4 separate regions of the Homo sapiens genome follow, and regions 1, 2 and 3 are each linked to region 4. The links are contacts of gene promoters, found by promoter capture Hi-C in blood cells and fetal thymus (Javierre and others, 2016). All regions are on one chromosome and are shown on one strand. The core of a region is centred on a gene start or on the middle of the fragment in contact, and the rest is flanking DNA. Distances in the headings are between cores, read along the strand shown. Region 1 holds the start of FLI1 (Fli-1 proto-oncogene, ETS transcription factor). Region 2 holds the start of ETS1 (ETS proto-oncogene 1, transcription factor). Region 3 holds the start of ETS1-AS1 (ETS1 antisense RNA 1). Region 4 holds the start of ZBTB44 (zinc finger and BTB domain containing 44).

Evidence for each region. The method cuts DNA at HindIII sites, captures the fragments that hold promoters and counts their contacts. A CHiCAGO score of 5 or more calls a contact.
Region 1: a contact is called between the fragment with the promoter of FLI1 here and the fragment with the promoter of ZBTB44 in region 4, in 1 of 17 cell types (neutrophils). The highest score is 6.1, in neutrophils.
Region 2: a contact is called between the fragment with the promoter of ETS1 here and the fragment with the promoter of ZBTB44 in region 4, in 3 of 17 cell types (neutrophils, M0 macrophages and monocytes). The highest score is 9.1, in neutrophils.
Region 3: the fragment with the promoter of ETS1-AS1 here is called in contact with the fragment with the promoter of ZBTB44 in region 4 in 2 of 17 cell types (monocytes and neutrophils); the score reaches 6.7 in monocytes.

Annotation. Positions count from the first base shown.
Region 1 is chr11:128,691,113-128,697,767 of GRCh38, reverse strand. It overlaps FLI1 (Fli-1 proto-oncogene, ETS transcription factor), which reads right to left and starts at 3,696. Exons shown (of 9, transcript NM_002017.5): 1 at 3,492-3,696. The coding sequence starts at 3,509. SENCR (smooth muscle and endothelial cell enriched migration/differentiation-associated lncRNA) reads left to right here and starts at 1,745. Exons shown (of 3, transcript NR_038908.1): 1 at 1,745-1,855; 2 at 4,377-5,113; 3 at 5,647-6,096. RefSeq lists silencers at 2,665-2,794, 2,845-3,064, 3,105-3,154, 3,375-3,744, 4,428-4,567 and 1 more and a cis regulatory region at 3,476-4,208. The HindIII fragment of the contact is 9,137 bases long and covers 1-6,655 here.
Region 2 is chr11:128,582,312-128,589,546 of GRCh38, reverse strand. It overlaps ETS1 (ETS proto-oncogene 1, transcription factor), which reads left to right and starts at 1,989. Exons shown (of 10, transcript NM_001143820.2): 1 at 1,989-2,059. It overlaps LOC105369565 (a long non-coding RNA gene), which reads right to left. Exons shown (of 5, transcript XR_948163.3): 3 at 6,340-6,550; 4 at 2,587-3,207; 5 at 1-526. RefSeq lists a silencer at 1,830-2,036 and enhancers at 5,715-6,431, 6,432-7,150. The HindIII fragment of the contact is 9,036 bases long and covers 641-7,235 here.
Region 3 is chr11:128,524,539-128,531,951 of GRCh38, reverse strand. ETS1-AS1 (ETS1 antisense RNA 1) reads right to left here and starts at 5,810. Exons shown (of 4, transcript NR_120581.1): 1 at 5,637-5,810; 2 at 4,534-5,419; 3 at 2,867-2,941; 4 at 1,569-1,814. The region is part of intron 3 of ETS1 (ETS proto-oncogene 1, transcription factor); the gene reads left to right. LOC124902790 (a long non-coding RNA gene) reads right to left here and starts at 1,563. Exons shown (of 3, transcript XR_007062949.1): 1 at 1,478-1,563; 2 at 1,026-1,116. RefSeq lists an enhancer at 1-110. The HindIII fragment of the contact is 5,425 bases long and covers 787-6,211 here.
Region 4 is chr11:130,310,823-130,317,981 of GRCh38, reverse strand. It overlaps ZBTB44 (zinc finger and BTB domain containing 44), which reads left to right and starts at 3,065. Exons shown (of 8, transcript NM_001301098.2): 1 at 3,065-3,607. It overlaps ZBTB44-DT (ZBTB44 divergent transcript), which reads right to left and starts at 2,989. Exons shown (of 7, transcript NR_148980.1): 1 at 2,867-2,989. RefSeq lists silencers at 1,972-2,031, 2,942-3,771 and enhancers at 2,332-2,431, 2,602-2,701, 3,862-3,911. The HindIII fragment of the contact is 9,181 bases long and covers 1-6,849 here.

The DNA.
Region 1 (6,655 bases), core at 2,447-4,946, 1.6 Mb after region 4:
TGTTGAATTAATGAAATATGCATGATGGTAAATTTGGACCTGTGTTCTAATTTTCTGACCAATCTGTCCTGGTATGCCCATTCCCAAAAGCAAAGTTCAATTAATGTGTATCCAGCTAAGGTGGCAGGCTTTAAAACATTATTCCTGTGACTTGTGGCAAGGAGGTGCTTTGGCCCCATTTTCTAGATAAGGAAACAGATTCAAGAGGTGCCTTGCTATAAGGCACATGAAGTTAATTTAATGTGTATCCAGCTAAGGTAGCAGACTTTAAAAATTCTTCCTATGGCTTGTGGCAAGGAGGTGCTTTGGCCCCATTTTCTAGATAAGGAAACAGATACAAGAAGTGCCTTGCTATAAGGCACACAGCTACTAGGTAGCAGAGCTGAGAATGAACCCGGGCTTTCTGACTCCAAATCCACTGTTCATTCTCTATTTCCCACCTTCATTCACCATGTCTGTCTTCTCTGTCTCCCCATCTGTAATGACACCACGTGCACTGAGTCAGGCATTCATAGATAAAATTAACTGGATTCAACTGAAGCCAGCCTAAAATTAAGATGCAGTTTTTGAAACCAGGTCATTTCTTAAAGCAGCAAACAGTATCATGTGCTTTTTAACACTGATAATATCAGTGTGGGAAGCAGGGGCGTGGGTCGGGTGTTGTTTAATACTGCAAGTTAACCTGTCTGTGACAAAAGAGTAGCGTGGCTCCAGCAAATATTGCTTCTCCCAATGTGACGGTCAGAGCCTTTCCAGGAGCCGTTCTTGGAAAAGAGAAGAGAATATAATATGGAGGGACTTATAAGGAGGGCAACAAGATTGGGATTTTGTAATCACATAGAGTTGTGCAAATTATGCACAAAATAAAGGGCTTCTGTGAAGAAATCCAGACTTCCCTGGCTTCCTGCACCAAATACCACCTAAGTGCCAAGACCCACAGGTATTTTGAAATATAGACATGACTTATATTTGAGGAAGAACTATGCAGGTGCATAAAATCACATCCTAGAATCACTCAAACCTGATTTTTCCAGGCAGTTCAAACTGGAAATGGACACCCTGGATTTGTGTACACAAATTAGATTCTCTCTAGAGTGTCGTCAACCTCGATCAGTGTAGGGCTGGATTTAGTGCACATACAGGCAAGTGTTCTTGTAAACACATATGAGCACATTTTAGGCACTGAGAAGATTGGTTAGATACTACTGTAGAGGTAACCTAGTTCCACTGTTTCATTTTTGTGATGACTATGAATCTCAAACAGGCTTAATGGACGGTTCATTCTCACCAAGAGAGCAGAAGAATGCTGGCCTCTCTCCTGGTCCACTGTCCTCTCCAAGCACAGTATTTGAACTATTGTGGGAACAGGATCTGGAAACCCCAAGATCCAGAGGTCACATGCGAACAGAAAACTGTGGCTTTCACACAACTTAAACACCAACACACACACTAAAGGCTCAATCTTGCAGAATGCTTGGAGACTGAAGGTAGCTCTGTGGGGACTCAGCCTAGCCAGGTAACTTAGGTGAATGACAGGTTGCTCACAGGGAGGGTTTGGAGGAGCTCATGGCTCCTACCACCCACAAAAAAAGGAAGGACTTTCACTCCCATCCTTGGCCTGAAGTGTCAGGTTCCTGCTCTAAGCCTGTTCTCGAGGCCTGCCATGCCAATCCCTGTGTGTATCTAAAGAGGTTAGCACATCCTGGGTACACAGACCACAGCTTCCTCCTTTTGCTCAGGGCCTGTGCGTAGAGTTTAAGCAGTGTGGAGATATTTCTTCACTTTTCCTTAGGGTGTCCACATCAAGACCCTGAGGCCATCTTACCACCCTTCTGGATCAGAAGAGGCCTTCAGAGTAAGTGGTAACTGTCCTGATTGGGGCGAGGGAGTTTTCTAGAGGGGAGCATCTCATTACTAAACCCAGAAATACAGAGACACTTGCATGAACACATCAACAGGAAGCAGAGAAACAGGCATAAAATGGCCCAATGACCCCCACTCTCGGGTCTTTGCAGGAATCCCCTCTCACCTACTTCTCACCTACTCACTTTGGGTTTGAGGAACCCAGGCTCTTATAGGCTCTTATAGCTCCCTTTAACCCATCACAGTCAGTTATCTCATCTCCAGATTTGCAAGTTCCTTCGGTTGGTGTCTTTTACCTAAGTCAGCATATTTCAAACTTTCATAAAAAAAACTTAGAAAATAAAAACCACGACCCCACCCAGAAGATAAAAATCTCTTGAATTCTCTGAGCCCAACATCTTAGCCTTCTCTTGCTGAGCCCTGAGCAGGGAGTCGATTCTTTCGGGTTCTGGGGAATGGCGGGCTCTGCCAGTCCCCACCTCGCCAGCCTAATAGTTTTTCCAGACAGACTCCCGCTTGGTGTTGCGCGGCAGCCTCGAAGCTAACCCCTGGTCCCATTCATTCCCCTAGGTCCTCTAAGGCCCGTCACGTTAGGGGGTGTCCCTCCTCTCTGCTCCTGGCCCTACTTGGCGAACCCTTTCAGAGACAGCAGTCAACTTTTCTGAAGTGAGACGCGAACCCAAACCCTCACCTTTCCGCCTGGGTTGCACTTTGCAACCTAGACCCAGGCTTGGCGGCGGCGGCTGGGGTGGGAATGGCCGGGCGGGCGCGGGGCGCGGGCTCACAGCCGGCCCCTGCAACGGAGGCGGCTCCGAAGGACGCAGGACCCTTTCGGAGGCGACAGCTCCAGGAGCCCTGGTCCTGGAGCCGGCGCACGCCTAGGCGCGAAGGGCGGGGGCTCGGGGCGCTAGGGATCTGTGCGGACGGGGGCTGGGGAAGGTTCCCCGCCGGAGAGGCGGCGAGGCCGGCCCAGGAGTCCCGCGGAGCCGGCGGCTCTCCAGCGCCTAGAGCCGGGCGACTGAGTGCCGAGAGGAAGGGAAAGCGCTGACATGTAAACAGGGGCTTCCATCTGGAGGAGCCCGCTCAGATAGATCCCCCGACACACTCACTTGCACCCCTACCCTCGTGCAACGAGGCCACTTACCCACCCCAGGGCCCACCAGGCAGGGACCCGAGCCCGGGCGACTGCAGCCCCCGCCCCCGCCGTGTTCCGCCTCTGCGGAGAGGAAGCCCAGTGCCTAGCGCTGGGGCCACGGGAGCCCCGGGTGTCGGTGGGAGTGGTGGACCCCGAGGTCTCTCGCCCTTGACTCCGTTCCGTACCCTGGGGTCCCCCGGTTTCCCGCCGTCCCCTCCTGCAGCCCCGGCGGGCAGCGAGGTGGGAGGGGGGCCGGGGCTCCACTTTGGGGGCTGGGATTTCGGGGGAGGGTCGCCCTCAATGCGGGCGCCTGGCCGGCTGGCCCGCGAGTAGGACTCGCCACCCGAGCGCCGGAGGAGCCGGCGCGAAGCCGGGGCGCGGAGGGAAGGGAGAGAGGCCACGTCTTCCGGGACGCGGGCCCCGCACCTACCCGCCCGCCGCTTCGCCTCCCCGGCCGGTCCCCGCCGCCCGCGTCCGTTGCCCCGCCGCTTACCTTAATAGTCCCGTCCATTTGGCCAAGTCTGCAGCCGAGCCCCCCAATATTCCACACATTGACCCGGTTACAGCCTGACCTCGCAGCCCCTTCGGATTAGCCCGGCGCGGCCTCCCTGGCGCCCTGGGCCCTCCCTGCGTGCCCCCTGCGAGCGCCCTGCCCTCACTCCCCTGTGCACGTTTGTTGTTGTAGCGGAGCGAAAGAGACAGTTAACCGGATGAAACTTTTTTTTCAGCTAATTTTGGGAAGTGACTTCACTTTGCGAATCGGGGAGGAAGTCCTATCTCTCTCTCTCTCTCTCTCTCTCTCTCTCTCTCTCTCTCTCTCTCTCTCTCGCCTCGAGCTCTCCTCTCTCTTCTCTCCCCTCTGCTCTCCCTCGTCTTCCCTCCCCCCCCACACCCCCTCTTCCTCCCCTGCTGGTCCTGCTTTTCGCATCACACACTATATAAATATACGCGGAGATGCCCAGACACATTCATGCGCTGCGCACACAGGATACTTGCTCCTGGGAGATAAGAGCTAGCCGGGAACAATGACGGGGTCCACGCCCAGCGTCCGCGCCCTGATTCCCGAAGTCTGAACCTCCCCCCATCACCTTCCCCCAAAATCCAAAGCCAAAGACCTTTGGCTTCTTTGCTTTTCCTGAGGCGGTTGGCCGAAGGTGGCCCTCCTGACTCATTCACTTTCCGTTTCTTCCCACAGATACGTTCATTAATGCTTTTTCCAGCCGGAGACAAACTTTTTGGGGGTGGGGTAGGGGGGGTATGGAGGGAGAGTTGGCTAGGGCTGCGGGTAACCCAGCGCCTACTGCCGGGGAAGACTCGGACGAAAACCGAGGCAAACCAACCATTAAAAAGTGCATCCAATAAGAATTTTTCCACTCAGGCCCTCCGCTGCCGAGACGCGGCAGACTCCCAGAGCGGCTCACCCACTCATCGAAGCGGATTCTGGGCGGTTTCGGGCTGACCCGCGCTGTCAGGGCGCGGACTCCATTCCGGGCGCATTGTTAGGAGAAGGGGCCCCTCGGGGCGGCGCGCCTCGACCCTGGGCTCCCGGTGCCCGCAGAGGGCGGAGATCCGCGGCGCCCTAGGCCACCTATCCGCATCTTCTCGAGCCAAACCCCCAGCGCTTACCCGGACCCGACGGCCCAAGCACTGACTCCCAGGCAAGAGTCGCCCTTCCTGGTCCCCAGGGAACTGACACTACCGCGGGACGTTCCCTCTAGGACAGTCAGCAGGTCCCAGGAGCGCAGCACGCAACAGCGCAGAGCAGACCCAGACTTTTCCCGGGGTGAGACCCGGAGGCCCGCGCTCTGGACCGTCCTCCCTACCCAGCCTGGAGGCCGGCGTTCCCCGGCCCAACCCGGAGACCTCCCCGCCTCCCTCCTGGGCCGCCGCGCGCCCCAGTTGGAGCAGCCTCGAGGGGCTGGGCCCTTTCGGCCGGACTCCCTTCTCCCGGACATCCAAAACAGGTTACCTTGTCCACGCTCTCCGGACCACGCTTTGGACTTGCTCACTTTTATTTAAGAGTCCGACGGGGGAAAGAGGGAAAAAAAATCCAGAGGAGATCCAAGTCAATTGGAAGAAAAAATTTCAAAAGGGTGTCCACAGAGGCGAAAAAAGGTGACTTATTAATTCTTTATTTCTTCAGGAGCAATTGAGCCCGAGAGCTCACTCGTCTCCCTCCCTCCCCCTCCCTCTCTAGAAATTAGTCTCATCAATTCGGCTCCAATTTTGGGTTCGAATACAGACACGGGTCTGAACGTGACCAGACCTGGAGTGGCGGGTGCAGCCTGCCAGCAATTGAGACTTGGTGTGCGTGTTGGGGGTGGGGGTGGGGTGGATGGTGGGATGGGGGCCGGGCTGACTCCCCCCGCTCCTGTCTGCTTCTCAATCCAGGGGTCTGCTCCGGGGCTCCCCTGGGACCGCCACATCTGGTTACCGCTAGCGGGGTCAGTCCCCCCCTTTGCCTGGGGCCACCAGTTCTGGAGTTCAATTAAAAGAAATCAGGCTTAACCCTTTCCTCCCCGCGGCAGGCTGCCTGCCCTCTCACTCCTCCCTTCAGCGTTTCCACGTGCTTTCCAGAGAGGAAAGAGGTTAACGGGAAAGGAAGAATGAATTACATCCTTTCAAACCCCAAATTGTTTCCTTTTCAGCCCAGGCTCTACCGACCTTCAAACTACAACAGAGCTTTCAGGAGAATGCGGAGAGACGGCTTCCCACCCGGACCTCACCAGAAACCCGCACACCCCAGCCACATTGCTCCTCATTCAGCCAGAAAGGACTCCAACTCCACCACCAGGAGGCCCCCCTTCCTGGTGCTGGCCAGTTGCAGAGGCTGTTCATGGCATCCCACAGGTGGCGACTGCCCCCCACCCTCCTCCTAGCACTTTAGAGGGTCCCTCTGTGGCAGACACCATGGCTAGGTTTCTCTTTCCAACTCCTGTTGGTCTGGCAAGTGACAGATCATCTTCACTACATTAATCAGTAGTCACCCGAACATTCCTATACTGTCCCCCAATTCCTTTCAGCACCAGCTGCCTCCCCCACTGGAATTATTCAATATGGAACTAGATTAAATTGAAGACTTGCCCTTTAGTTTTTAACTGTGGAACTCCATCGCACTTTCTGTTTCTCCAAAGCTACGGCAATTTCATGGTTTTGGAGATGGGCGGGGGGTAGTGGAGAGCCTGGCACAGGCACCACTAGATGCATAGACACAGGCACCCCGGCCCTTTGGGACTCACAGACTGGCACTGGTGCCACTGTTGTTGGCGATTTTCAGCCCCCTGGGAGAAGCTCCTGTCCATTCACAGAGGTCTCCACCCAGAAAGAAGACCCCACCTAACTCTGACTAGATGCCTGCGGGAATCTCGGATTTCCTCCATCCAGTGTTGGCATGCCCGTAGGTCAGTTTGCCCCACTTTTATGTAACTCAGGGTTTGATGGTCAACTCCACTGCTACTGCTGCTTTTTTAAATCCTGAAAGGGGATGGGGGAAGCGCCCTAACCAAGCACAATAGTAAACAAGTCTACCCTGTTTAATGTGGTTACCACCAGACATCTGGAAAGATGGTTTGATCCTGGCAGCTCACATTGTTTTCACGAGCAGCCAAAGGGGATATTTTGAATGTTTGCATTGAGACAAATTGATAGAGAGCCTGC
Region 2 (7,235 bases), core at 740-3,239, 1.7 Mb after region 4:
AAGTCCAACTTATCTATTTTTTCTTTTGTTGCCCAAGTTTTTTTTCCTGGGATAAGCTGTCATATCCCAGGAAATCATTGCTAAATCCAATGTCATGAAGTTTTCTTCTTTGATTTTTTCTAAGAATTTTATAATTTTCATTCTTATGTTCAGATCTTTGATAGATTTTTGTTAATTTTTGAGTATGGTGTAAGGTAGGAGTCCAATGTCATGCTCTTATATGTGGATACCCATCTAATGTTATATTTTTGAAAATACTGTTTAAAACAAAACTTACTGTTTTCCTGGGCATTCTCTAGGCAATTTATGACAGTGGTGGCTTATTTTGCACTATTAAGATTTCTAGTTTATGTTCTTCCACACCGTAAAAGGCCGTGTCAGAGGAGGGAGCTAAGGTCCTGAAGAGTTGCTTTCTATATAAACTCAGCATAGACAACTCCAGACTTCAGAACCCCTTGACAGCCACACTGTACACCCTTATAGAGCAAGAATCCAAGTCTTCTCAACTTTGTTTTTTTCAATTATCCTGCAAACATAGTGAATACAGTTGTAATTAGTTATGATTGGTATAATTGACCGTGGGCTCTTTAAATGGGGCAGTGTGCTGAAATTGACTGGGTTACAGGGGCAGGCTGAAGCTTCCCTAGCTCTCTTCATAGACTTCTTTTGTAGCATGTATTACATTTTTGGGGGGAGATCGTTGATTTATGTGTCTGTCTCCTCACTACAATGCAAACTTGCTATCTTTCTAGTGCCTAGAACAGTGCCTGGCACAGGCAATTTATTAAACTAAAGTGAACCAATAGCATTACCTCTTCCTTACTTCCAAGTTAATGTGCAAAGGCAGAAGATGAGCAGTAAAATCTTGCTTTACTTACAATGTCATCTTAACTGCATTGCCAGCTTTATACAATGAAGGCTGATGATGATATGGCTCCAAATGACAGTTATTAGATTTTCAAGGATTTTCTAAGTTTGTATCTTTATTAAAAAGAGAAAGAAGCCAACTATGACAAATCTTAACTCCCACCTCCTACTCAAAGAAGATGGAATCTTTTAGGATAAAAGTCTTAGATTAAGCAGCCAAATACTGACTTCTCAAAAAAAATTGTAATAACTCCATTCATAGAAATGAGATTATGCTGTAACATTCTTACCATAGTCCTGAATATGTGAATAAAAGATGCTGTGTATTTTCACTTAGGACAGATGTAAGATTTTCATATTGTTTACATTTTCCCTAAATGAGAAATGTATGAACACTTCTGCCCTTTTATTCCTGCACCACGGACCATGAGTCAGGGCTGCTAAAAGTATCCTTATTTTAGAGATTGCCTAAAACCAGACTTATATGAAAAGGGGATTTTTAGCTTTACTTTTCAGAAATCCCAAGTCCATATCCAGTCAGCTCTCTTCCACAAAATTATTTTCTTTTCTTTAGAAAATATCACATTTCATATCAAGTTATTAGAGAGAAACGGGAAGCCTGAGCAGGTGACTGGGTGGTGGACGTCCTGTGTTTCTAAAGCAATCCCTTTCCCTCACCTGAGACCTTGCCTAGGTTAATGGGGGCTCCATTGAGAAAGTCAAGGAACATGAAGCATGAATATTTACATATTCAGCAGAGAGTAAATGCATCAGCAAATGATGAGGTGAGATACAGTGTTATCCCACTGAACTAGTTCCCTTTTGCTCATCTCCCTCCCTGTTACTCTCCAAGGCTGAGTTATATTCAGCTGAAGCACAATTTGAAGAATACGAAATAATGTGTGATTTGGTGCCACCACTGTCAATCAACAGTGCTTTCCACCTAGACTGCTGTGCCTGTGCCAGTGGCTGCTGTCCTGGTGCCAGGGGCAAGAGGAAGACTGCCTTTTTTCCAGCTTTCCCTGGCTTGACCACACCCCCCAATTTAAGGAGGCAGCTCTATTAGAAACATTATGGTCTTTGCATCCTCTTAAGCTACGGAGCAGAGGATTCCCGCAGGTAGTTGGAAAGAGACCACAGACTTTGAGGGAAGCTCACTCAGGATCTGCTCTCCGGCAAAGTAGTAAGTGAGGTGTGTGTCAGTTTCTGCCTAAAACTTTTCAGTCCATTTTCCTTTTCCTGCTTTAAAAAAATTTCTGTGGAATTAAAGAGTAAGTCGGTAGGGAGATTCAGGATACAAGTGAGTTTTCTCTTTCTCTTTTCACGTCTTTCTATATTCCCATTTAATTGTTTAACAATTTTCAAAAATACTTCCTAACCTCGTCAGAATAGTCTGAAAGCAAGACTATGTTTTTAAAAATGTTCCCTGCTTCACAAAAGTAAAACCATGCACGTTTTAGATACCCGTAGATTACTTGTCAGAAACCCTGATTTTTTTTTTTTTTTTTTGCAAATTGGAGCACTTCCAAAGAAATAAAGCTGTAGTTAAATATATAAATTTCTTTTTATTCTCTTTCACTCCTAGTAAATCTATTGTTTTACTTTTTTCTCCTGCTAGTAGTTTAATGAATTGCTTTTAATAGAGAGGAAATTGCTACAGGTTTGAATCTTGCTAGCCAAACTAGCCTGTTTGGTGTTTTTCTCTGTCTTGGGACTGACCTGCAGTTGTCCAAAGATCTACAAGTTCCTAAGTCTGTTGTTGAGACATGGTGTGGGTGTGGGCCGCGGTTGTCTCAGAGTTAGGGAGGTATTTCTTGTCCCCACGGTAGAGCTGGACTCAGTGGCAGGAGATGTCGATGGCAATTCCTCTGCATCCGGTGATTTTATCTGGCCGTGACACTTTGTATGTGACTCCTCACCCACCGTTAAAGGTCTCTGTTACCAACTTTTAAAGTAGTATTTTCTTCAGGCAAACTTAAAAGGGTGCTGGGTCACTGAAATCAATGCATTCTATTGCAGGATTTCTTTATCACCTTTTGGGTAAGTTTTTGTTTTTAATCTCAAGTCCATTTTCCTTCTTACTTTAGACCACTGCCATGCAACTGAGAAAAAAGTATTTGTTAAACAGCAGGAAATACCAATTCTAAAATGATAACTCCATCAGCTCCATTTGATTTGTAAAATTACTGATACTATAACTCTTTCATCAGTTGTGGTTTTGGGTTTGGTGGCCTATTTTTATCCAAAGAGAAAACGCTTTTTCTTCAGGGGCCGTGGGCTGTGCACAAGGGCTGCAGGGTGGCCACTGCTGCTGTTGAGAGTCTTGCTCACCTGTTGTTCCTGAATGGAGGGAAGGGAGAGCTAATGGGTTAATGTCTGCAAAGTGCTTTGAAGATGAAAAGGTCTTTTCATGTGTTCAGTAGTGCAGTTATTAATATTAATATTTGAAGAAGCATGCTGCTTCTAATTGTAAATCAACTACTTCCATCCTTGCCAACTCAATAGTGAAATAACAAACAGTTCAGGCATCCATGCAGCCTCTTCCGTCCTGGTTCCGCTGCTGAGGATGTGGGAAGCCAAGCCGAGAGCCTAATTATGGAGGGGGCATCTTTGCCCGGCAGGCTCCTTACACGGAGGTGCTAGTTGCTGGCTGTGAAAGGATGTCCTGAGGCAGAGCCTGGGGGAAGCTGGTAGAGGGGTGGGATCCTTTGGCATCTGGCAGTCTGTGGCCAGAGCACCGACTTGGGCCAGTGGCCGGTCCCGGACGATAATGGAGTTCAAAGGCAAGTGGGGTCAGAACTTGAACCAGCGCTGGGTCGGAGAAGGGAAAGTGGCTGTGCACTTGGATTATGTCAGTGATTAGCTTTGTAACAGAGAACAGGGATTGAACGTGTCTGTGCCTTCTTCCCTTCATCTCTAAAAGGTGAGCAATCATTTGCGCCCCGCCTGGTTTACAAATATGAGAGAATAGAAGTAAACAGCATAGGGCTATGAAAAATCAGAGTGCCAGTGAGGTCAAGGACTGTCTGAAGTAATACTTCAACAAACTGGGTGTGTGGGTGCAGGTCCTCTCACCTAGGGGAGGGTGAGGCAGAAGGCAAAACACTGCAAACAAATAATCAACAGATTTCTCTCTTTGATTGCACTGGTGAATTTCTTACTGATAACTGAGGTTCTGATGTACCTTGTGATTTTAATTATTGGTGAATAGATCTGTTTTCCATAGTGACTATCATTTTCTAATTACCAGTTCAAAATTCCCAACTGTTCACATCAAACAGCAGAAGGGAATGATTACGTCCCACGAGCTGGGACCCTTCCTTCCTTCCTTGCTTCCTTCCTTCCTTGCTTCCTTCCTTCCTTCTTCCCTCCCTTCCCTCCCTTTCTATCTTTCTTTTCTTTTCCTTCTTTCTTTCCTCCCTCCCTCCTTTCTTTTTCTTTCTTTCTTTCTTTCTTTCTTTCTTTCTTTCTTTCTTTCTTTCTTTCCTTCCTTCTTTCTTTCTTTCTTTCTCTTTCTTTCTTTCTTTCTTTCTTTCTTTCTTTTCTTTCTTTCTTCTTTCTTTCCTTCCTTCCTTCCTTTCTTTCTTTCCTTTCTTTCTTTCTCTTTCTTTCTTTCTTTCTTTCTTTCTTTCTTTCTTTCTTTCTTTTCTTTCTTTCTTCTTTCTTTCCTTTCTTTCCTTCCTTCCTTCCTTTCTTTCTTTCTTTCTTTCTTTCTTTCTTTCTTTCTTTCTTTCTTTCTTTTCTCTTTTTTCTTCCTCTTTCTTTCTTTTCTCTCCCCTCCTTTCTTCTTCTTCTCTCTCTCCCTCTTCCCTCCTCCTTCCCTTTCCTCCCTTTCTTTCTTCATTATGGAAATGATAAAGTATTTAGCATTTGAGCAAAATTAATGTGGTATGCAGCAATTTAGTGGCATTTCAGGCAAATCTTTTAAGTTTCTTCAATCCTGGGAAAAATTAGATGTGAAGACATAACTTACTTTTTGCTTCCTCATCTCCTTTATCCCTGCTGTACTGAAAGTATAGCTTATTGAACTCCACCTTTTAATGTAGATGATTTTCTAGTTATCATATCCATTCTTCTTCATTTCACCTAAGGAGGAATACTCAGCCCTAACGTTTACTGAGCACTTGGTATGTTCCAACATCCTTGCTAGGTGCTTTGCAGGGACTGCTTCATTTAATCTACAATGAAGTTTTGAGGTGGGCACTCCACTCTCGTCATCCCCATTTACCAGGTGGGGACTCTGAGGCTCAGTCATATGACCGTGTTAACTCATGGTGGACCCTGATTAGAGCCAATGGAATGTGAACCCAGAGCTTGTGATTGGAACTGCATGTCATAGGAATCTAAGTAACTCTAAGACATTTACACAAATTTAGGATAGATTTTTCTGCTTAGACTGATTTGCTTATCTAGGAGAACACTGGATTAAGCCTGTTTTCTGAAGTGGTATCTGTGGATTACTTATTCATTGTTATGAAGATACTGACTTTGAAGAAAGACTACCCAGGCCTAGTTTCCTGGGTAAGTAAGTCAGTCCCTTCCCTGACAAATATCAGTTTTATTTCTACTCCATGCCCAGCCTTGTGCTGGAGACCATACCAAACACAGAAGAAACAATATGTAAACTCCATTTTTAAAATTAACACAATAATCTTTACTAGAAAAGAGGATAAAAATGAAAGACAATATAATTATTAAGTAGTGTAGTATAACCTATACATGCTTTGGGAGTTCAGGTAGAAAAAAATGGTATCTAGAGCAGTGAGGGAAGGATGTTTCTGATCTGCCTTTTTTTCAAAAGAGGATAGATTTCATATTCCAGTAATCAAGTGTTGGAGCTGCCTTCAGAACTTAGAGGGAACAGGCTGGGTAGTACTTACTAGCATGAGAGTAAGCAACAAACATTTAGTGCAAATGTCAGGAAAATATTCTCAATGGGGAGGAAAAAATATATAAATTTTCAAGAGATGTGGAAAGGTAGAAAACTCCAGAATTTTGGTCTTTTTAGAGATTTAAAAGAGATTTAGTCTTTTTAGAGACTTAAAAAAAACTTTTCACTTTGAAATAATTCCAGATGCATAAAAGTTTGCAAAACAATGTACAAAAAGTTTCCAAAACATGTGAGTCTTTTACAATTGTAAAAAAAAACATATAATGCAAATAACTCTTTTAAATTATCTCTTGGCACCTCTTGTAATCCTTAATCCAAATGACTTCTGTTGATGGGAGAAAGCACCATTGCCAGTTTCTTGATAAAAGGGACCAAATAACTAGAACCATGTCTTCTTAGGAAAAGCAAGAAGTCTTGGCAGATGTGCATCTGGCATATGGCTCCTGAGACACTGACAGGTCCTGAGCTACTCAATTCTCCCCAGCCGGGTTTGTATTGCACCTGAGGTTACCAGCATCTGCTCAGCCTTGGCACAGAAGTCTTGCCTGTTCCTCCTTGGGCTCTGCCTCCTAAACACCTACCTTGTTATAATCACTCATGAGTTCAACCAAGTTAGTCCAGCGCTGCCTTGCTACTCACAGTGAAGTCCTCTGACCTGCGGCATCAGCACCACGTGGGAGCTTGTTAGAAATGTGGAATGTCTGGCCAGACCTCAGACCTACTGCAGCAGACTGCATTGTAACAGGATCCCCGGGTGATTCATATGCACATTACAGTTTGGGAGGCACTGCTCTAAAGAAAAAGCAAAAACAAATGAAAAAGCAAAAATGAAAAAAATGAACAAACAAGAAATCTTGCACTATTTTCCGCAGTGCTTTACTACTTCCTTATATTTGTATCTAGTTGCTAAAGCGTAAGTCCACAAAAGATCGACATTATATCAAAAAGATGTTGGTTTAACTCAGGAAGCTGCAATATTTCACCATTTGTGCTATGCAATCTTTCAATGAGTTAGTTCTCCACTGTAAGAAAAATGCTTACTTCTTGGTTTTATGCATAACAATGGTACAAACAGACTACCATTAAACAGAAATTGTGGCTCTTTTCTCCTGCAAAATTCTTGACTAATGCTACTCAACCTATGATTATGAAAGGGAATCCTGTTTTCATGACTTGAATACAAGTCTTTAGAAAAAGAGATGAGAGATTTAGCTATCCATGTTCTAGCTCTAACACTTAAATAACCTCTGCCATGTTGGGCAGTAGAAAAAAGTAATTAATATAAAACAGTAGTGTTACTAATTAGTGACATTAGTAAGCATTTACTAATGCTTACTAATTGCCAGGCACTACTGATAAAATAGCAATAATAACAATTATTATTTATTGACCATTTTTACTATTTATACAGCATGCTGCTAAGTATTTGTGTTTTGTATGATCCTCCTCTATAATCCTGAAAGTGTTGATATTATTA
Region 3 (7,413 bases), core at 4,561-7,060, 1.8 Mb after region 4:
AGAAAAAGACTTCTGTGAAGTGAGTGCAGTAAGGTGCTGCCTAATGGGTGCTAGTTTGGGAAGTACCTAGGCAGAGTGCTATGGGGGCATATTGAATAGCATGTGGGATTCTTCCCAGATTGAAAGTCAAATGCTGAGGCCAGTTGCTTAAGAAGGTCTTATTTTGTTTAGGTTGCAAAAATCATTGGCTATCAAACGTGCAATCCAGAGAGTGGAGAACCCAATACTGGAAGAAATTCAAGAGGGTACATATTCTCTTTGCTGCTAATTTGTAATGTAGCTGTGAGTATATGATTAGAACTTTCATAATTGTATCTCACATCTATATAGTGGGAATTAATCCCCTTTCATCCAAGAGGGATGGTGTCAAGGATTTGCATGATTTGCATACCTAGACCAAAACTTATCTTTGTCACTATGTCATGATTTTAACAGCGCACATGAAGATAGGACACTGTGTCCTCATTTCTTCATAAGAATACTATATACTACAGTTTGGATTAACATTCATGAAAATTTTATGCTCACTAAATCCGAAGTCACAATTCTGATTTTTAAAATCAATAATAGCAGTGAAGGGTTACTGAGTCTTCATTCTGCATCATGCACAGTGCAAAGCACTTGGCACCCATTCATCTCATCTCATCTCAGTTCAACTCTGTGAACTAGGCACTTTCCGCATCTCCATTCTGTAGATGAAGAAACTGAGGCTTTCTGAGGTCAAAGACTGACATCTGGAGAGCAGCCAAGCTAAAATTCAAACTCTCGTCTATTTACTGCCAAGCTTGTGCTCTTAACCCACTCTACTATGTTGCCTCCCTGGTTATTTTAGAGTTTAAATTTATTCTATAGTGAGGAAACCAAAGCCTGGTAGTTTCTGCTTGGCAAGAAACTGCAGGTTTTTGTATGGACTATTTGGAAACAGGAACACTTATTTGCAATAGCCTTTTTACCTCCACACCTCAGTTCAATTCAATTCAATTCAATTAGACAAATACACTCTGTAGGAGAAAGCATTAGCTCACTAAAAGTGGATGGATATGTAGATGCTGGACCTTTCCTGGATCTGGAATTTTGTTGCCAGCCATCTGGTCTCTCTCAATGCTGTGGAATCCCCTGAAAGAAAAGTTTATAATCTTCTTGATTTTTAGAAATTCTCAACAATTATTCAGAATTTTAAATTCCTGGAAAGGGTTCTCTCTTGGGAATCTGCCATGAGAGCGCTGACTGCCCTTTGTTTTTTCCTCTCACAGTCCATTGCCAGCTTCCCACCCAGCTGCACCTCCTCCCACCCCTCCTGGATGGGTCCCTTGTGGTACTTCCCACCCAAGGCCTTTTTGTGATGAAGTCTTTCAAGATGGTTTCCCAATCTGGGGAGAACACATGTTTCTGATCATTCTGATGAAACACGTTTCCATTAAGAAGCAACTTCTATATGCTTTCTGCTTTCTTCATTCTGCACGTTACCTGTCATTACCTCTCACTGCCAGCCCTGGACTCTTGAAAGTGTTTCACAGGCCTGTCTGATTAAATGGCGCCCTCTTACACGTCACACATGCCCATTTTGCTTCTCTTCTTTTCACCAACTCAACGGAAGAAAGATTTTTATTGTATGGGAGCCAATCCAGATAGATGAGATGTGAGCTGGGTCTGTTCCACCTCATGAGTCATGGGCAGGACCATCCACTACATTCTGACTCCTTCACAGGGCTGATGCAAGATGTGGAGTGAGCACAGCTGGCTGCTTGCAAATTAAAGAAGACTTCATTTCTTTTTGGTCCTTAAGAGCTGAGAATCAAATGTGAGCTGTAACGCTGGAGAAATTGACATGTCCCTTTTTGAGCTTCTTATTCAAATCTGTCAACTTTACATCATTGGCATGCTTGATGCTCAGTAAATTCTAAATATGAATAATTACACTGGACACCCTAAAGTTGTTTTAATGAATTTATGTTCCTGCATATTTATGAAACTCAGATTCTGTGCACCCTTTTCAGGAGAGTACATACCAGAAAAGAGGTTTAAAGCAGCATGGGAACTTAAAAAGTGCTATGCATTTTACTTCCTCTGTTGGTAGAGTTAGCATTGGTGAAGCTAGGATTCATATTAATTCATTATGACACTATAATGCTGCTCATTGAAGGATGCCTAAGGTAAGATAGGCATAGATTCTTGAGTAAAATGTTTGTGGATGACTGCAGTGACATACTCAAAGAATGTTATATTTACTGGCTAAGCAGGCTGTTCTTAGTGTGACACATCAATGTTTTCTTGGGGCTCTTATACGGAACTGGTTCTGGAAGAAGTGATGTAAAATAATGTGTGTTCATGATTCCCCCTCAGAACTCAGGAGAAATCATGAGCCCTCACCAAATCCAATATTTCCTTGGTTTTTAGGCTTTAAGATCAGCTGCCTTTTCTGTTCCAACATCTTGATTACCCATTAGTAGATACAAACAACAAAGTGCAGAGAGCAATACTCTACTTCGACAAAAGTGGTTAGGGCTGCTTTCTATATTTCTGTGCCACCTGCTAGATTGTAGCAGCTCCATTTGATCCTCCCTGTCCTTTTCATTCCCATCTTCACTCTCAGCCCATCCCCATGTCCCCCCATTTCTACTTCCAACCCATACCCTTCCTCAATATAGAATCACCTGTATAGCCAGAAGATATATTTCAAAATACAGTGCTTCTGGAGTCCTGACAGATTAAACTTGAGAAGGTGAAAGGGATTTGTAGTAAGCACCCTGGCTCACCATAAAGCATGTAACAGTCTATTCTTTCTCATAAAGATGGAGGAAATTGAGTTCATTTCATGTATTTCCCTTATCTTACAAATAATGTATATAGCAGTTGTACATCTTACCTTTGTGGAAGCCAGTGAAATAAAAGATTCAACTCGAAGTTCGGAAATTCCTGAAGACTGCTTCTGAGCAGCCATCTGAGAATATGAATAGCGTGATGTATAAAACGTCCAGGCTGACAATCAAACAACTGATTTACTTCGTGGTGAGCCAAATGTCATTTTTTACATGAAGTCTCAGAATAAAAAATTAGATAAAAAGTAAAATGAATATTGTGATCTTAGCAACATTCTCCTTTAAGGGGATGGGAGGAATGGGAGGAACAGAATAAAACTTTACGAAGACCTTTTTAGTTAGAAATGAGTCAGTTGGTTGGATCTTTAATCTTAAACTTTGGGCAAATTTGAGTCTCACTTCAGACCGAACTAGGCAAAACAAAACTGGTATCTGAGCTTCATTTTTCTGTAAAAATGTTACGGGGATGTTAGGAAGTTAACTGTTCATTAATTAAATAATGAACATAATTTATGGGGCTCTTACTACCTTGAGCTAAACACCATGGAGTGTAATAATGACTGAACCTCAGTTGCTGCCTTTAAAGAGTGTAGGAGACTGACACGCATATTCAAATATGTACTAGGAGTGTGCTCTTGAGCTGAGCAGAAAAGTGGCAACTTGCAGGGGTGGGGTGACAGCTTCTGTGAGGGAAATTCTTTGTGTACTGCAAATGTCCATGTGAGGAAAAGACTGAGAAACACACTCTATATTCTGCCTAGATTGTCAGCTTGACCTTCCCTTGTGTCTTCTGTGACCTCCTGAGATCCTTTCACCTCCATTCTATCCTGGATCCTTTGCATCTCTTCCAGCATGAGGACCTCCCATTGATCTGTTTTCTGTAGTTCCATGACTGTTGGCCATGCAAGACAATTAATTAAAGTATGGGATACTTTACTAGGTCTTAACTGCATTTTGAAATCTTGGGGACTGAAGTCCCAGAACGACAAGAACATAAAATCACTGTGACTCTACCTCCTCATCTCCTCCCCTTCTCTGTCCTCGACTTACACTTCCATTGTTCTCAGAGGACTTCCCTTCCACTACTTCCTCCTGTACCACCGTCCCTTTTCCTTTCAGGGCTATTTCTCCTTTTTGTGCTCCACTTATCTCTGCTTCTTGATCTCTGGGGTGGTAAATGTTAGTCTTTTGGGGCAATTGATTTGGCATTTTAAATGAAAGTAGTGGGGAGAGGGGAAAAGATTCCACAGTGAAATTGTCTTAATGTAAGATTCAAACCACAACTGCAGAGAACATCTGTTTTGAAGTTTGATGTTGTCTTTGTAACCCAAGAGAAAAGCAGAGTAAGATCAGAGGAAGGCCTTAGCCTTCCACCAGGATGAAACCACCTGCAGCCTTGGACAGTGGGTGAAATCCTGTAGCCCTGGGATGCAGAGCTTCTAGGAGACTGGCTGTCCTCTTCTCTCATATTATTAAAGGATGTTGGTTCTCTTGCCATCTGTGCTATTGCCATTATCCCTCTACCTCCTCAAGAGTCCAATTCAGGACAATTTAAATTGGAATCCCAATTACATGATCCCCAAAGGCTCACAGAGTAGCCTGCATTCTGCATTTGCAGCAATTCCAGGCAACATGCTCAGCCTGCTTCAGGGAAGCACACAACACTGAGTGTGGATGAGACCTCAGAACCCTCTAACCTTGGGCAGCTCCTTACCTCTTCCTGTCTGAGCCATGTTTGATTTGCTGCAAGAGGAATACGTGTCTAAACTGCTGGATTTTAAAATGTCGCTTGGTCTGTGGATTAGGCCAATCCACCCCACATTGTTGGGGCTGCAGATGCAGTTGAATGGTTCATAATTATAGTCTAAAGAAACTGCAGACAGCAATAGAGCCAACCCAGGCCCTTTCTCTCCTGACAGCCCATGCCAAGCTGTCTCCCACAGGGAACCATAGTGTGGTTATCCTGCAATGTATTTGCCCAAAGACAATACATCCAGTGTAGAGAAGTTGGATTTCTAGAAATTGAGTCTGCTCATCTATCTACTCCCATGTCCATTGTATCCTGTCTTGTGTCTCAAGGGTGTCTGGTACTTCTCCTGCCAAAGTGAAATGCAAAGTAAATGCAAGGAGATGCCAGGGAGAGAACTGCTATCAGGGCATCTGGTTCTAGTACTGACACTGACTTTTTTAGATTGTGTGGCCCTGGAAATAATAATTTCCTCACTCACACTCATTTTTCACCTCTGGTAAATAGGAGTGCTGGACTTGGAGAGCACTGATAAACTCCCATTGAGCTCTAACATGTGACAAATCCAAGACCTAAGGTTTTGTCTCCAAAGAGGCACTACAAATGTGATCTTCTTTCAGAATTTAAACTGTCACTTTTCTGTGACTCAAAACAAATATAAATCTAGTTCTCTTCTCCAATCAGGTAGTTCTCGAATTTCTCAAGTGAGGCTGATGCTGGGCAGGTTGCCAGTTTAAGAACTGAGGAAGGGTCTTGAAGAGATTTTTAAATGAAATGTGGTGATAGTTGTTCTATCTCTCGCTGGAGATCGTTCAGGAAAATTGAGCATCCAAGCTATTCTGCAAAGAGATGGCTGTAGACAGACATTTAATGTGATTTCCCACATATTCTACCGTATACTAGATCTTAATAACAATAATCAAATACTAATTCTCACCTAGACACTGTGCTAAATTCTTTGCATACATTATCTCATTTAATCATTCAAATAGCCTTAAAAGGTGTGTGCTGCTATTATCCCTAGTTGAAACATGGAGGAACTGAGGTTCGGGATTGTTTAAATGACTTACCTGTGGCAATTCAGCTGGCTAGTTGGTAGAGTAAGAATTTGAACCTGAGTCTTATTCCAAAGCCCACACTACTATCCTCTTTGTTTTCTTATATTGAGCTTTCCAGGGCAAACAGGCTCCCAAGTCCTCCCCTCTCCCCCAACCCCACCCCACCCTCCCTTCTTCCCTCCTGACTGCAGCTCCTCCTACCCTCATTGTTTATTGTGCCTTCTAAACAATAGCCAATGAGTCTGTGTTCCATTCTAGGGAGAGCTAGGGCTGATTTTATTCCCTGAAACAGAGATGAGGTTGTGACACAAAAAGGTTAAGTGGCTTTGGTGAGGTCACAGAGCCAGCCTGCAGTCAGCAACAGTACCATCTGAGTCCCCTGGCTTGGGTCCCTTAACTGACCCTAAGGCTTTTTGGCATCCAAGTTTAATTAAGAGAGTTATTTTAATTTTCCTTCCTATCTCTAATTTTCCATTTTATTGCTGCTTGATAATGTAGATATTGAAGTGCCAGGCATTTTTCTTCCCTAGTGTGACTTTTAATGACTAAACTTCTCACATAGAAACCACTTGCCTTAGAAGTAAGCTTTCAAAGCTTGTTTCTGTGTATGACAGAGACTGTTGCCTTTTCTCAGAGAAAAATGAGACCACAAATGCAGCTCAGACAGGTTGTTGTTAATTGAGGGCTTTTTTTTTTTTTTTTTTTTTTCTAAATCTTACATTTATACCAGTAAATCAACATCTGTGAGTCATAAACTGGTTCTGGATCAGCCGTTAGTGGTCTGAATGTTTTTGTACCTACCTTCAGTAAAGCATATTTTAGCTCAAAACTCAGAGATTCTTTGTTTTGTTGAAGTTCAAGACTCAGGAGTAGATAACATGCTAGGACACTTCTGGAGAGGGAAAGTCTGTCTTCCATGATTGTTCAACATTAAGTGTATATTTATATTTCTTTTTTATTGAAGTTGGGGTGGAGTTGAGGGAGGAGTATAAATAAAAAAGAAAGTATGCTTTTTACATACTCCATGTGCTTGAGGAATTCCTGTATGAAGGTGACTATTTTCTTAATATTATTGTCTAGCTCCACTCTTCTGTTCCCCAACTCCTGCGGACTTTTCTTGGCCCTTATTGACTTCACGTTCCTAGTGTAAGGCAATTCAGCACTTGGTAGGATATAATTAGCCGAAGTCTAAGGAATGCTTAAAAATACAATTCTGTTTTTTCCCAAATGCAGGAGGAACAGACTGCTGCAGTACAAGCACAAGCACAGAAGTATTTATTTGATTGATTTTTTTTTTTCCTGAGTGCCTTAAAAACCAGATATGGTATTGAAGTATCTTGCCCAAGTGGATGAAAGGCAACGCTTGGCTGCTGTTGTTTGGCTGGTGGGGACACTGAGGCATACATGTAACCGAGTGGACGTGAGTGCTGGGGATAGAGGTTCTGCTCTACTATGAAGGGAAAAGGGCACAGCCTCTGACACTTTTTAGTTCATCTTCACAAGCCAGAGCATATCAAACTCACTTAATCATTGAATTAGGAAGCCCATAGTGACCAAAAAGTTGATAGTTCATCATTCAACACATATTTATTGAGCTCTGTAATGTCTTAGGCACTAGGCTAGGCATCAATGTTTTAGCGTATGATAACATAGAAATATCATTTAAAGTCCATATGAACATTTAGAAAAATCTACTTGTGTCCTAAAGAGAATGAATAAAAATTTCATTTATCAACATTGATTAGATTAATGAAACATGACCCTGGCAGACCTGATCAGATTATTATAT
Region 4 (7,159 bases), core at 1,816-4,315:
AATTTTTAAAATTAGCCAGGCACAGTGGCGCACTTGTAGTCCTAGCTATTTGGAAAGCTGAGGCCAGAGGACGCTTGTGCCCAGGAGTTTGAGACTGTATTTAGCTGTGATTGCACCACTGCACTCTTGGACAACACAATGAGAGCCTGTCTCCAAAAAAAAATTTTTTAAGTGGAAAAGGCAGAGGAGACAAGGGAATAATCTAAGGGAAGAAAAGTTTTTAAATGATAAAAGCCATATATGACAAACCCGCAGCTAATATCACACTGAACAGGAAAACATTGAAAGCCTTTCCACTAAGATCTGGAACAAGACAAGGATACCCACTTTCACCACTCCTATTCAATATATTTCTGGAAGTCCTCACCTGAGCAATTAGGCAAGAGAAAGAAATAAAGGGCAACTGAATTGGAAAGGAAGAAGTCAAATTATCCTTGTTTGCAGATGACTTGTTCTTATATTTAGAAAAACCTAAAGACTCCATCTCTCAGAACTTTGATGAACGAATTCAGTTAAGTTGAAGGATACAAAAATCAATTGATTTTCTTTTCTTTTCTTTTTTTTTGGAGATGGAGTCTTGCTCTGTCGCCAGGCTGGAGTGGCACGATCTCGACTCACTGTAACCTCCACCCCCTGGGTTCAAGTGATTCCCCACCTCAGCCTCCCAAGTAGCTGGGACTACGGGCGCGTGCCACCATTCCCAGCTAACTTTTTTGTATTTTTAGTAGAGATGGGGTTTCACTATGTTGGCCAGGCTGGTCTTGAACTCCTGACCTCGTGATCTGCCTGCCTTGGACTCCCAAAGTGTTGGGATTACAGGCGTGAGCCACCACACCCAGCACAGTTGATTTTCTATATGCTAACAGCCATCAATCTGAAAAAGAAATCAAGAAAACAATCTCATTCACAATAGCTACAAAAAAGCAAAATAAAATACCTAGCAATAAATGTAAGCAAGGAAGTGAAAAATCTCTACCCGGAAAAGTGTACACATTGATGAAAGAAAATGAAGAGAACAAAAAAAAAAAAAAAAAAAAAAGGAAAGATATCTCACGCTCATGAATTGAAAGAATTAATATTGTTAAAATATCCACACTACCCAAAGCCACCTACAGGTACAGTACAATCCCTACCAAAATATCAATGACACTCATCACAGAACTAGAAAAAAAAATCCTAAAATTTGTATGGAACCACAAAAGACCCTGAAAAGCTAGGGCAATTCTGAGCAAAAATAACAAAGCTAGAGGCATTCCTCTACCTGACTTCAAGTTGTACTACAAAGGAAAGCAAATTTTTGTGTCAGTGTAGTAGTTGAGGAGCTGCCACCACAGCCCCTGGAGAAGCACTTAGAAAAGACTTGCCTCATGGTCTTTTATTGACTATCCTGTTAAAGGCACTAGGAGAGGTAGATAGGATTTGACTACTTCATTTCCACCCTGATTCTTGTCCAGTTGCTTACCACCTACATACATTCTCACACATTCCTCACCAGGGCCCCAGCTCATGCCCTTTCCTGAGCCCTGCTCTGTGGCCGCCAGTCCTCTCCCAGGTAAGCATTCCGCCTTCTTTCCCTTCCCCTCTTCAAAACTTAGTGCAAAAGTTTCTGGGCCTAGTTCGCATCTTTCTGATTTTTCTCATCTCTGAAATGGGAATAATAAGAATGATAGTGGGAATAATAATAGAAACCTGTGATAAAACCTGTGAATTACAGTTGCCGTAAGGATTAGATAACATTATACATGCTTGAAAACTTGTTGGAAACTGCGAAGGACTATAAAAACAGAAGTTGTTTTTATTGCCTTTATTCCTAAAGAAGATTGCAAGTGTCAGGGTGTTCAGGTGCTTGGCTGCTTGTCTCTCAGAGTGAATTAATGTGAGATGTTGCCAAGTGTTTCAAAAGGAAAATCCACTCTACTTCAGCGGGACGTCCACCCACCTTGCACAAAACCCTCTGGAAAGAAGTCTTTCGGTTTGCAAACTGGAGGCGTGGGAAAACAGAAAGCGCCCAAGGAGCACCTGCCCGCACCCCGCCCGCCCCCAGGCACCTGGGGCGCTGCCGCCTGCAGTCCCGGGAACCCCTATGACCTCCGGGGGCGGTGTGGAGAGCGCTCGCCCGCCTGGCCAGGGGAAGCCAAGACTTAGGGCCCTAGGAGTTAACTAGGTTGATTGATTTTGCAGTTGACCAAGAACTTCAAAACCCCCCGGGCGGTACCGGTTACTTCGGGGAGGCCCGCACACTTCCTCCGGGAAGGCCAGGAAGTAAGTGATGGTGCAGTAAAAATGACAGATTCACGGTTGTGGAAGAAGTAGGGTATATTTTTGGAGCAGCTCTAGCTGTCCCTGTGTTGGAAGAACGAGAGGGACCTGGGAGTCCGTTTCTCCACTCATCTCAAGAACCGCACGTCCTGCCAGGTCACCGAGGCAAGTGCTAGAACGGAAGAGAGCAAGCACTGCGAGGAGGCCCGAGGAGCCACGCAATCCAGACACCCGCCGCATGTCGCAGTCCGCCCAGGACGGGGGCGCGGGCTCACCTGTCTGCGGGGCGGCCCTTGGCAGGCCTGTTTCCATGGGTGAACAATGGGCACCTTACCAACTAACCTCCCTCGCCGAAGAGGGGCTGAAGTGTTTCTATTTCGACCTCCCTACAAAAACTACCCGAGAAAATAGGAGTTATGTTTTTAGTTCGAAGAAAAAAATAATGCTATAAATGTGACTCCTGCGGAGAAATGCTTCTCAGGTGTGAGAGGGGAACTGGGTAAGAGGACGGCTTAGAGGAAGGACAAATGGGACAGGGCTTATGGGGCATGTGAATGTAAATCGGCACATGTGCGCACATATGCAAAAATACAGTGTCAAGACTCACGGCCTTTCTGGGTCACGCAGGCTCCACCGTCTAAGGAGACGGAGTCACCAACAGTACAAGTCCCGACGGCCAAGAGGGCCCATTTTCTGCGCTTGCGCAATCATCACGTTTCCTTCCCCGCCCCGAGCCCCGCCCCCGAGCGCGCTCCGCCCCGCCCCCTTCTCCTCCCCTTCCCCAGCCAGGCCGCCGGCGCAGAGCATTGTGGGACACAAACAAAGTGCCCCCAAACAGGCTGGAGTGAGCGGAGCGGCAACGGCGGCGGCGCCGGCCGCACGCGCGCGGCGGCGGCTCCCTCCCAACCTCCCCCTCCCCTCCCCTCAGTCCCCTTCCCCTTCCCCACCCCGCCCCGCTGGGAACACGCGAGCCGTCGCCGCGCTCCCCAAACAACCGCCTGCCCTCGGCCAACCGTCCCCAACGGTCGCCAGCGCGCGGCTCCCGGGCCCCCTCGCTCCTCCCCTCTGGCCCCTCCGAGCGCTGGGGGTGCTTCCCTCCCCGCCTCCTCGCACTCCCACTCGCGGGCACGCCGGTGGCTGTGCCGCCATGCCCCACCACAGGCTGCTCACGGGCCTAGGCGCGGCGGCCCGAGATAGGGGCCCCTGAGCCTCCCGGGGGAGGAGAGAGGCAGCGAGCCGCGCTCCGCCCCCTCCCCCCGGGCCGCCGCCGCCGCCGCCTCGCCGCCCCAGCCTGGCGGGAGAAGGAGGAGGAGCAGCAGGCCTCCGGGCCCGGCGCCGCCGCCCGCAGGTAACGGGGAGGGGAGGGCGGGCTCCGGTCGCGCGGGGGACGGCCCCTGCACGCTGCCCGTGGCTGACACCGCGTGGCCCCCACCTGGCGCCGAAGGGAGCGGAGAGCCGGGTCTGTCAGCCTAGTCCGCGCCGGGAGACACCCCACGGGATCCCCTCGGTGGCATTTAATCCTTCTGGGAGGAGACCGGCCTTGGGCCCCGCGGTCCCGGAGCAGTTACCCCGACCTTCCAGGGAGCTGCCCGTCCTTTGCACGCCCATTTGCCCAACACCCTAACCCGGAGCGGCCGGAGTGTTGCCACCTCTCACCTGGTCGAACCCGGGAGGCTCAGACCTGTTTTTTTTCCTCCTTTCCCCTTCTGCTTTTTCTCTGGTACAGAAAGAAAAAGATGGCACTTCTTTAAAAAAATATATATATATATATATACACACACACAAACACACACACACATACACACACACACACACCTCTTTTCCTTTCCTTCCTGAGGATCACTCTGCATCTAGTCGTTTTATTGCTGGCCTAATCAGAAAAAGGGGTTACCTCGAGAAATGACAGGTACGTTAGAACTGATTAAAAGGAAATTGCGTCCATGTGAGTTCTATGAATCCAAGCAGAATTTACAATAAAACCCCGTAATTGTGTGCTTTTTTTTGGAACTTACAAAAATGAAGACAAAAACTTAATTTCTTTTTCAGCGTGTAAGTAGATAATCTCTTGAAGTCAGGAAGAAATTCTCCATAACTTCCACTTATTTTCTTAATGCTTTATTTGGAGATCGGCTGATACCGGAAGCAAGCTGCACGATTTTGATTTCCTTTTCTCTAGGTGTTCAGTTGGAATTCTTGGGTTTAAAAAATACTGTATAAATCTTCATTTCCCCCATTACTTCACTTGGACTGTCAGTGGATTAATAATAATTTTACCTAATGTAGTTTCCCCTTATCATAGAATGTGAATATAATGAACGTAGTCCTTTAGTTTTGTATTTTAGGATTATTAGTAATGTACTGATTAATTATGAAAACCAGATTATTCATTTTGTGCAGTACTGCTTGGCATTTTTGCATTTGTAATTATTTAATTCTCAGAACAACCTAATGATGCAGATATTATTACTTGAATTTTATAGAAGTGACAAACTTAGTGATACGAAGAATTACAACTTGCCTTAGGGCACACAACTAGTAAGATAGTTTAGATTTCAACCCAAATATAATTCCAGTATAGATGTACTTTCGTGTACTTTCTACCGTACTTCTCAATAGAAGTACAATTTTATTAACTTTGTTATGAAAAATTTTAGTCGTATAGAGGTTCGTTCTATACAATTGTGATCGGTTATTCATGCAATGAATAAAAATGCTAATCAATGCAATGAATAACCAACTCAGTGATTAGCATTTTTGCCATATTGTTTCCTGTCTTTCTCTGTATGTGTGTAATTATTTGAAAGTAAGCTGCAAACACTGTAATCCTCAAATATTTCGGCATGTGTTTCCTAAAAATAGGGACATTCTCCTACTAACCCCAGTATCATTATTAATGCCTATCAAAATTAACAACTCCATCTTCAAAATTCCTCAGTTGTTCCAAAGTGTCTTTGAGGGTTCTGCCCCCAGTTGTAGTCAGTCAAGATTCATGCATTGATTGCATTTGGTGATTAAGTCTTTAGTCATTTTGTAAAATGAAGAGTATCCATCCCCTCTTCTTTTTGCAGGGGAAATTAAATAGGATGAATATTCCCTCCCTTCTTTTTTTCTGACACGTAATTGACCAAACCAGTTGTCTTGTAAAATATACCCACATTCTGGATTTGTGCCCTCCTAATGTCATTTCGTTTATTCCTCTTTCTCCCTGAATTTCCTATTAACTGGAAGTTAGGTGTAAAGGAAGGCTTAATTAGCTTAAAGTAAAACTTCCTTTGGCAAGAATATTTAATAGGTGATGCTGTGTACCTCCTGTTGCATAATATAGGAGGCACACAATGTCAGATTCCCACACTATTAATGATGCTAAATGTAACCATTTGATTAAAGTGCTGACTACTGATCTGTTGTAAAGGTGTGGTTTGCCAGTTTGTGATTAATATGTAATCTTGGGGTAAAACTTGGACACTAAGCAAATACCCAGTTTCTGACAATCTTTTGCTTAGTGGTTTTTAGCACCCATGATGACTTTTGCTTAAATCAGTTATTGGAGGTTCTCTGTAAGGAAGAGATTTCCTTCATTAAGTGCAGGTAAACTATTGTTCTTCCCCAAAATGCAAATTAAATGTTAAATTTAATCTCTTTACTTTTCAATATTCATAGTAAAGAGCTGGAGAAATAGCCACCCCCAATGATGTTTTTTGGGGCAGGGGTGAATGATACCACTTCAGACTCTCATGGGTTTTAATTTATTCCTTGTTTTATAACCAGTTACAGTCGTCTTTCTTTTTAATGACCAAATTGTCCCAGATTTGGTCAGTAGGAACCATTTCAAGCTGACTATTGTGTGTCTTGACACCCCTGCTCCCCATTAATCTTGGAGTGCTTTCTGACACGAGTTACTCCAGGGTTTATCTTATACTTTCTTTGCTCACCTCTGGAAAGAGCTGTTTATCCAGGGAGTCTTGGTTCTTTTTAATGAGAAATCGTATATAGAAACCAAGTTCTGGATGTTTGGCATATTCGTTGCTGCTGCAGTATCATTGCTTCTAGGTGCTTTGAGAGGAGAGAACTAAGAAAAAGGTTTTTGCTTGTTTAATCATGAGTTCAGAGTGATATTCCAATTCCTATTTAACAAGCAGACTTTTTCTTCCTTGACTCTATATTTGTCTCTTGTCTTAAATGAAAATCTTGGTTTTTAATACAGTTAATAAACTGGCCAAGCACAGTGGCTCATGCCTGTAATCCCAGGACGTTGAAAGGCCGAGGTGGAAGGATTGCTTGAGCCCAGGAGTTCAAGGCCAGCCTGGGCAACATGATGAGACCCCATCTCTATAAAAAATAAAAAAATTAGCCAGGCGTGGTGGTGTGTGCCTGTGTTCCCAGCTGCTCAGGAGGCTGAAGCAGGTGGATCACTTGAGCCCAGGAGGTTGAGGCTGCAGTGAGCCATGTTCATACCCCACTGCACTTCAGCCTGGATGACAGAGTGAGACCCTGTCTCCAAAAAAAATAATAAACTTATTTGCTTTCTCCCACTGTATACATAAAATCATTTTAAAATTATAGTGCTGGTATTGCTAATACCAATAAGCTTCATGTAGTTTAAGATTTCTTTGCATTTATTTTCGTATTTAGACTATATTGCATGAAGAATGTATAATGAGTACTGTGTTCAAAAGTCACTTGAAATACTTTTCTCTGGTTATGCTACCAATTTGATATGGTTCATAGGTTTCAGTTTTTACTTAGGATTTTATTTTTGAATATGTAAAGTATGTACATAGTGTAGAAGTCAAAATAATGTTTTAAAACTATACTTGGATTAGCCGGGCATGGTGGCACATGCCTGTAGTCTCAGCTACTTGGGAAGCTGAGGCAGGAGAATTGCTTGAACCGGGGAGGT